Regions from separate parts of the Homo sapiens genome. Here region 2 is linked to region 1. Evidence: promoter capture Hi-C in human tissues and cell types (Jung and others, 2019). All regions are on one chromosome and are shown on one strand. The core of a region is centred on a gene start or on the middle of the fragment in contact, and the rest is flanking DNA. Distances in the headings are between cores, read along the strand shown. Region 1 holds the start of SCAMP2 (secretory carrier membrane protein 2). Region 2 overlaps ARID3B (AT-rich interaction domain 3B).

Evidence for each region. The method cuts DNA at HindIII sites, captures the fragments that hold promoters and counts their contacts. A contact is called where the count stands out against the background at its distance.
Region 2: a contact is called between a fragment that was not itself captured here and the fragment with the promoter of SCAMP2 in region 1, in 1 of the 25 tissues and cell types used here (aorta).

What each region holds. Positions count from the first base shown.
Region 1 is chr15:74,871,652-74,876,070 of GRCh38, reverse strand. SCAMP2 (secretory carrier membrane protein 2) reads left to right here and starts at 2,706. Exons shown (of 9, transcript NM_005697.5): 1 at 2,706-2,872. The coding sequence starts at 2,816. The HindIII fragment of the contact is 15,220 bases long and covers 1-4,419 here.
Region 2 is chr15:74,567,241-74,571,632 of GRCh38, reverse strand. The region is part of intron 2 of ARID3B (AT-rich interaction domain 3B); the gene reads right to left. Among named protein-coding and RNA genes, the nearest start is that of ARID3B, 28 kb to the right of the region's middle. The HindIII fragment of the contact is 4,220 bases long and covers 379-4,392 here.

The sequences.
Region 1 (4,419 bases), core at 1,457-3,956:
TAAATGTGTATGATGCATGTGGGCTGGGCACAGTGGCTCACGCCTGTAATCCCAGCACTTTGGGAGGCCGAGGCGAGCAGATCATTTGAAATCAGGAGTTCAAGACCAGCCTGGCCAAGATGGTGAAACCCAGTCTCTATTAAAATTACAAAAAAAAAAAAAAAAAAATTAACTGGGTGTGGTGGTGAGTGCCTGTAATCCCAGCTACTTGGGAGGCTAAAGCAGCAGAATCTCTTGGACCTGGAAGGCGGAGATTGCACTGAGCTGAGATCATGCCACTGTACTCCACCCTGGGTGACAGAGTGAGACTTTGTCTGGAAAAAAAAAAAACCCCAAACCCACAAAAAATAAATTAATAAATGTGTATCATGTGCTTTATACTATGTTAGTGACAGAAACACAACAGTGAGCAAAACAGACCTCAGCCCTACCCTCATGGAGCTTTCAGTCTAGCGGAGGATACAGGCATAAAGAACCACCTATACTAGTATTAATTACAATCTGCAATGGGTATTGTGAAGGAAAAGTACAGGGCAATAGGAGAGCTTATGTTGGGTATGAGGTGATGATGTAACCAAGAGAGTGAAGGGAAGCTACTCCTGAAGAAAGGCATCTGAACTTGCATTTAAAGGGTAAGGAGAGGTTAACCAGAGGATGATAGTGGGGCATGGGTTAAGTGCATACCAGGTAGAAGGAACACATGTGTAAAGGCCCTGAGACAGGAGGGCACAAGGAAGGTTTGAGCAACTGAAAAGAACTTGCATGGCTGGAACAGTGGGTGGGGGTTGGGGGCTAGAAGGGGTCAGAAGGGGAGAAACGTAGGGGCAGATCCTTTAGGACCTTGAAGACAAACTAAGAATTTGGGCCTTTATGATTTTTTTTTTTTTTTTTTGAGACAGAGTTTCACTCTTTTTGCCCAGGCTGGAGTGCAATGTTGCAATCTTAGCTCACTGCAACCTCCGCCTCCCAGGTTCAAACGATTCTCCTGCCTCAGCCTCCCAAGTAGCTGGGATTACAGGTGTGCACCACCACACCCAGCTAATTTTGTATTTTTAGTAGAGATGAGGTTTCACCATATTGGCCAGGCTGGTCTCGAACTCTTGACCTCAGGTGATCTGCCTGCCTTGGCTTCCCAAAGTGCTGCGACTACAGGCATGAGCCACCTTGCCTGGCCTGATTTTTTTTTTTTTTTTTTTAACTGAGACAGGGTCTCACTCTGTCACTCAGCTGGAGTGTAGTGGTGCAAAGATGGCTCACTGCAGCTTTGACCTCCTGAGCTCAAACAGTCCTCCTGCCTCAGCCTCCCAAGTAGCTGGGAGTACAGGCACAGGCCACCATGCCTAGCTAATTACGTGTGTGTGTGAGATATGTATATGTATATATATATATATATATATATATATATATATTTTTTTTTTTTTTTTTTTTTTTTTGTAGAGCCAGGGTCCTGGTATGTTGCCTAGGCTGGTCTCGAACTCCTGGCTTCAAGTGATCCTCCTACCTCTGCCTCCCAAAGTACTGGGATTACAGGCATAAGCCACGCACCCAGCCCTTTATGGAAATTAATTGAAAAATTTTAACAAAGTTCTGTGATAATTTTGCCCCCTTTAAACATATCTTTGATTACAACATGAAGAACAATAGACCAATTAACAGCACTGTATTAGTTCAGGGTAAAAATGACAGTGGCTGGGATTCGGTGACAGCAGAGATGAATAATACCAGACAGATCCAAATAAATAAGGTGGATTTGGCCAGACAGTGGTTCATGAGTATAATCCTAGCATTTTAGGAAGCCAAGGCGGGAGGATCACTTCAGCCCAGGTGTTTGAGACGAGCCTGGGCAATATAGTGAGATCCCCATCTCTACAAAAAATCCATAAATTAGCTGGGTATGGTGGTGACCAGCTGTAGTCCCAGCTACTCAGGAGGCTGAGGTGGGAGGATTGCTTGAGCCCAGGAGCTCGAGGCTGCAGTGAGCCATGATTGCACCACTGCACTCCAGCCTGGGCGACAGTGAGACCCTGTGGGGGGCGGGGGCGGGGGAAAGCGGAGCTGTGGAGAGTGAAGCAGCCACCTCCCCCATGATTGAGGCTGTGTTGCTGAATTCCGTGAGTCACTTCATAAATGTTTGATGTCCAGGTTCAAGTCCCAACTCAGGTCCCAAAGCTGATGGGCCCAGGAACCCTCGTCCCTAAAACGATGAAACGACATCAGAGGGCGAGCAGCCCTAGAAGAAGCAGGCTCAGCTCGGGTGGAGGACTGCTGGATGGTCCTGGCACTTCTCTTTCCCCGAGCACGTTCTGCAGAAGAAGCGCTTTCCTAGTTCTCCCAAGGCCTCTGGCCTCACCTGTCACCCCTGTCCTTTGCCCAGGGATCAGTTTGGACTTCTTCCCAAACTTGGTCTACAGAGAAGTGAAGGGGCTGTTTCCTGTCCCACTTTTGAGAGTTTGCTTTAGAAACATAAAATTGGAAGGTGTCAGATTGATAGGCAGTTGGGAAGGACTCCGGCCACGCCTCTGGCTCCGTAGACGCTCCGCGCAGCCAAGACCCCTGAATCCCCAGCAGAGCGAAGATGTGGACGGAAGCCGAATGCCCACCCACCGCACTATTGTGGGCTGGGCGGGGGGGGGGGGGGGGGGGGCGGAGCGACCCCGGTGCCGTCATAGGGCCACGCCCTCGGGGGAGGGCATCGCGCCTGCGCCAGAACCGCTGCCTCGCTCCCGGAAGTGGAGGGTCTACACGAAGCGCCGCTGGGTCTGGGTGCCCGGAGGCAGCAGCGTTCGCGGAGTTCGCCCGCTGGCCCCCGATCACCATGTCGGCTTTCGACACCAACCCCTTCGCGGACCCAGTGGATGTAAACCCCTTCCAGGTAGAGCCCCTCTCCCGCCATCCAGCTCTCAGATTTCCCTAGGGCCCACGGCCGCCGCCCGGGCCTCTCGCTAGAGCCGGGAGACGTGGCGTAGGAGGGACGGGTCATCTGCCCAATGGGAGAGCGGGCTTTGAGGTCTGGCCTATCGTAACGCGTGAGGGGCGCGACTAGCAGCAGGTGGAACTGCAGAGGAGGCGGGGCGCTGAAGTGTTGGAGACAGTGGGGTCTTCTAGCACCCGGAGGCTGGGCTGTGCTAGGGAAGGGGACTGGAGCAGGTACGGTCGGACCCTTCCGGAAGTCTCCTAGCGTCAGGGAGAAGCGAAATGTGGCTATCGCATTCCCTCATTCTTGGATAGACACCTGTCTTGAGTCACTTTAGAAGAGGGGGTGACAGCAACATATGAGGAGGTGGTGAAGCCTCTGGTGGAGGGGAAAAATGTGGGAAAAGCCCAGGACACCTGCCACCGCTCCACCACCAGCCAAACTAGTGTATAAAGTACAGGAGAGCCCCTGAGATTTGTCAGGGAAAGAAAGATGGGAGAGGGCGGGAAGGTAGCCCAAGTTGAAAAATGGCCTTGATAAGAATTCCACATTTTGGCCATGGGTCTAGTTTGGAGTGGGTTTTGACCAGATAGGAGAGCCCGGGTTAGGGAGAGAGGAGAGGTGCGGGGGACTGTGAAAAATTCTGGACCCACAGGGAACGTTTGTCTGATGGAACTGTGTGTGGTGGCAACATAGTTGAGATGCACTGACGTGTGAGCTGGCCTGACTTTTTTTTTTTTTTTTGAGACGGAGTCTCGCTTTGTCGCCCAGGCTGGAGTGCATTGGCACGATTTCCGCTCACTGCAACCTCTGCCTCCCGAGTTCAAGCAATTCTCCTGCTTCAGCCTCCTGAGTAGCTGGGACTACAGGCGTATGCCACCACACCCAGCTAATTTTCATACTTTTAGTAGAGACGGGGTTTCACCGTGTTGGCCAGGCTGGTCTCAAACTCCTGACCTCAGGTGATCCATCCGCCTCGGCCTTCCAAAGTGCTGGGATTACAGGTGTGAGCCACCACGCCTGGCCTGACCTTTTGAACAGCAATCAAGGAAGAAACAATCTTCCTGCTTTCTTTCTTTTCCTTTTTTTTTGTTTTGTTTTGTTTTGTTTTTTGAGACAATTCTTGCTCTGTCGCCCAGGCTGGAGTGCAGTAGCGCGATCTCGGCTCACTGCAGCCTCAGCCTCCTGGGTTCAAGTGATTCTCGTGCTTCAGCCTCCCGAGAAACTGGGATTACAGGTGTGCACCACCACACCCGGCTAATTTTTGTATTTTTAGTAGAGACGGGGTTTCACCTTATTGGCCAGACTGGTCTCAAACTCCTGGCCTGAAGTGATCCACCCACCTTAGCCTCCCAAAGTGCTGGGATTACAGGGGTGAGCCACCACACCTGGCCTCTTTTTTTTGAGACAGAGTTTTGCTCTTGTTGCCCAGGCTGGAGTGCAGTGGCGCGATCTCGGCTCACTGCAACCTCAGCCTCCTGGGTTCAAGCAATTCTCCTTCCTCA
Region 2 (4,392 bases), core at 1,239-3,738, 300 kb after region 1:
CACATAGCACATTGCCTGGCACACCAATTAAGCACCTCTTCAAAAAACATACACATACCTTACAGGGGGGTCAAAAAGTCTTTGTGCTAGTGAGGGTATGAACTCTCACAGTATAACTCTCTTGTTCACCCCGACCCACTGGTCAGTGGAGGTCCCAGTGGCCTGGACACACTGAACCTGTCATATTCATTTCTCCCACAGGACCACAGGTGCATGCGTACCATGCCACCCAGCTGGCTGGGGTGTGTATGTGGTGAGGAAAGGACATGTGGGGCTGGGGAGCAGTGGTTTCTTGGGAGAACATTCTTTGGACTACTCAGGAATCTTCTTCTAAAACCATGTCAACGAAATAAAAGCTTGGTTGAATTCCACTCTCTTCCACCTGCCCCTTTAATAAAGCTTGTCTGAAAGCAGAAGGCATTATGCAGTTATATTTTGGGGCCAACTTTGCTTCCCCTATTCACAGTGGGCTCTGAGATGAAGACCCACTTTCCGATAGCAGCAATCTGGCACACAGTGACATAAGTATAACTAAGAAGTGACACTCTGTCAGTTAAAATGAAACAGACTACATCAAATTGTTTCCCTGCTTATCTAGTAAAAGATGTGTGTATGGAAGTGCTTGGTAAATGCTATCTGACCATGCACTCATCATCTCTCAAGGCAGACATTGTTGGATCCCTTCCTACAGCACCTTCAGCACAGGGGAGCCAATAGCCAAGTGGGAGGAACATTGTTTAAAAAGAAAAAAAAGTTAAAGCTCATCCCACATTGTAATTACAGTCACCAGAAATCTGGTGTCATCTGGTGGCAACTAGCACAATGAATAATCAAGATGAATTATGCCTGTCAGGTCAGCAAAACCAGACAGAGTTACATTCCCCCTTTCAAAGGATGCAGTAGGTTGCCCTAATGCCCAGTGATTTTGTTTGAGCCAGTAATTCCTGCTGGAAAGTCAATTATCCCAGGAGCCCCTATCAGTTGAAAGACATTTAATGGGGGATCATTGCCGCTTCTGTTATGTCAGCTGTTTACTGCGGCAGCTCAATTCCCAATTCTCTGGCGAGAGCTCTGAAGCTGATCTCATTCACAGAAGGACTCTTTCTCTATCAGTCACCAAGAGAGATGAAAACACTTTTTTTTTTTTTTTTTTTTTTTTTTTTTTTTTTTGCTAATTATAGTAACTTCCAAGCACTCTGAATGCTCACTCAAAAACTATTTAACACTCAGTTGGGTGGAAAGGGTGGAATCCACAACCTAAAAAGTCAGACAGGGCTTTCCACAGAAGGACAGCAGTGTGAAAACAAGCACGCTAGTGTGACCACTATGTGACTATGTGTGAAAATAAACACCCAAGTGTGAGCGCTCGGCTCCACACATGGAGAATGCCTTGGCAGGATGGGGGCTGGGGCTGGTAGGGTCCTCTTGGCTTCTCCAGCTTTGTCCAACCTGCAAGAGAATCTGACAGTCAGATGGTGAGGCCTTGCACAGAGCCCACTAAGTGTGACCCACTTAGCTTAAAATGCCTCCAGCTTGGTGACCACAGAGGTCAGGAAGACTTGCCAGAGCAGGAAAGAAATGAGACACCGAACTCTTTGAGTAATCCCACTGTTGGACCCATTCCACAGATAGGAACTGTCAGTTACTCTATTTAAAGAAAATGTGGGGAAAATAGTTGCCCAGAGAGGAGGTATTTTCTTTCGTCCAGCTCCAAGGCAAGGATGGTCAATTCAGCTGGGGCTGATGTAAAAATGTCCAACGTGCATTCCATTCTTTGTCTTAAGGCAGTTAAACTTTGGTCCCACTTCACAGGATCTTCTGGCTGAGGTGAGAGTAATTCCTGAGCCCTGCCTGCCTTTCGCAGTCTAGCAGAGCCTCCTGCCTCTGCCCACCAGGCAGATTCAACACCTTTCTCCTCTGGGCTCTACCACCTGTGTTCAGTTACTCGTCTGGGTATCTCCAGCCCTGAGCACATAGAAAGCACTGACCAGCTGGGCATGGTGGCTCTTGCCTGTAATTCCAGCACTTTAAGACCAACCTGAGCAATATAGGAAGACTGTCTCTTTCTTGTAGGCTGGAGTGCAGTGGCATGATCTCAGGTCACTGCGACCTCTGCCTCTTAGGTTCAGGCGATTCTCCTGCGTCAGCCTCCTGAGTAGCTGGGACTACAGGTACATGCCAGTACGCCCGGCTAATTTTTGTATTTTTGGTAGAGATGGGGTTTTGCCATGTTGGCCAGGTTGGTCAGGGAGACTCCATCTCTACCAAAAATAATAATAATAATAATAATAATGAAGAGGGAGCACCGATATATCTGCTAAAAGACAGAGATGGGCTCCCCTGTGGGACCTCCAACCCCACAGCTCCTCCGTCTTCCCCTCCCCCTTTCATTGGGTGGGTTACAGGCTTAACCAGTTATTTTCTTGGTTCTTAACTCTGATCAACTGCTGTAAAACATGGCTCACTTATGCAATTCAAGTTTGTGTGCAGCAGGTTTCTTGGCCTATCAATAGAGTATGGGTGTGACTACTAGAAAATTATCAGCCCAGAAATAATTTTTTCTCGGATGCTGACTGTGGCTGACTGAGACTGTAATGGTGGAAGAAAGCAGGGAACAGCAGAGGCAGATGGAGGGTGGGGAAAACAAACCCAAAAAGAGACAGCTCAACATTTTAGGGATCAAAAGAGGTTGATGAGGAAAGCATTTCAGTTGAAGGGTTGCTGCATGCAAGTTTAACCTGCCCAGGGAACAGGCTTTGTTACACCATCAGCAGCAGGCAGCAGTATTATATAGCCCAGAAACGTGTGTGGGAAGTCAACAGTAGCCAGAGTGGCCACTTACTGCCATTTACAGCCTTCTCAGCCTCTCCTACTTGAGAACTGTCTTTTAACATCTTTGATCTCTCCAGGAGCTCACAGGAAACTGATAGTTTGCTCCCAAATACACACCCAAGACTAGCTTTGGCTACTATACCTACATTCAGCTAATTTTCCCCAGGAAAAGAAGGTTGGGGGAAAGAGAAAAGGTAGCAGGAAGCTAGTGTTTGTGTGCCTTCTGCATACTAAGGATTGTACCAGGAGCCTTACAAGCATTTTCTCACTTAATTCTATAATGTAGAAGTGGTTATTTTAGAAATGGGAAAACAATGGCTCAAAGAGCTCAAATAACCTGCTCAGGGTCTCAGAGCTTCTTAGTGACAGTGCCAGGATGTAAACCTAGGTCTGTCTGGCTCTCGCTGTTACACCATACTGACTTGTAGTTTGAAAGAATAACACGAAGTGTTCTGGATAAGGAGATCAGGAAGGGAGAAAAGAAGAAAAGGAAGTGAGAATAAAATCCTCTGTCCAGAGATGCCTGAAATGCCCATGTCATGGCACTGGGCAGCTCCTATCAATGGGAGACTCTTTTATCTTTGCTTTATCTCATGGCTTCACCTGGGCACTTTAGCCAAACGAAAAGCAGCCCTCACACAATGCTTGCCCAGGAGAGTTATCTGGCGGTACTGAAATAAGAATTGCTAACTTTTTACCCCTCCCTCCAAAATAGACCATTCCAGTAGAATGGGCCCATCTTCCCCCAGAAGACAGAGGATCAGGGGAGAGGAGAAAAAGAGAAGAGGGCTACACCTCTGAATGGACCAGAGGAAGATGGCAGCTTACACTGTGACATGCACACACAGGCCTTCAAAAATAATGAATCAAGGTCTGACCTGACTGCTACTCAAAATTAGAATAGTGCTTCTCCAGCATCTCAACCCTGGAACCCATTTCAACAGCACACAGGGGAAATAAACAGACTATCTTTGAAAATCTAAAGGTAGTGAGTGAAGAGAAACTAGGCTTTTTCCTCCTTTCTTCTAAAGCTCCAGAGGGCACAACTAGTGTGATAGGCAGAAGTTACCCTGAGGAAGATTTCAGGTCTACAGAAGGACTTTTTAAAACAAGTAGAACTGCCTGGTAATGGAGTGAGCTTCCCAGGAGGTGGGCAACTTCCTGTCTCTGGATGACTATCTGTATGGCATGTCATGGCGTGGAATCCAACATGAGACAGGGTGGATGAGATGGTCTCTAGGGGCCCTTTCTGTCCTGAGAAGCAAAGACCTGATGACAAGTTTATTCAACACAGATTTCCTGAGAACCTACCCCAGGTAGAGCATTGTGCAAGCTGCTGAGAATACCACTAAAAAAAAAAAAAATTGTTCCCACCACTGGGAGTCTTACCATGAAGTTGGAAAAACAAACTGAACACATATAGCATATAATAGCAAGACAACAAATAGGAAAACCCAAGGTACTCAGGAGGTAGAAGAAAAGGCTGGATGGCTTAGAGGTGGAGGTTAAGCTGGCCTTGAAGAATGGGTTGAAGGGAGATTTGCAGTCTAAATGAGCATG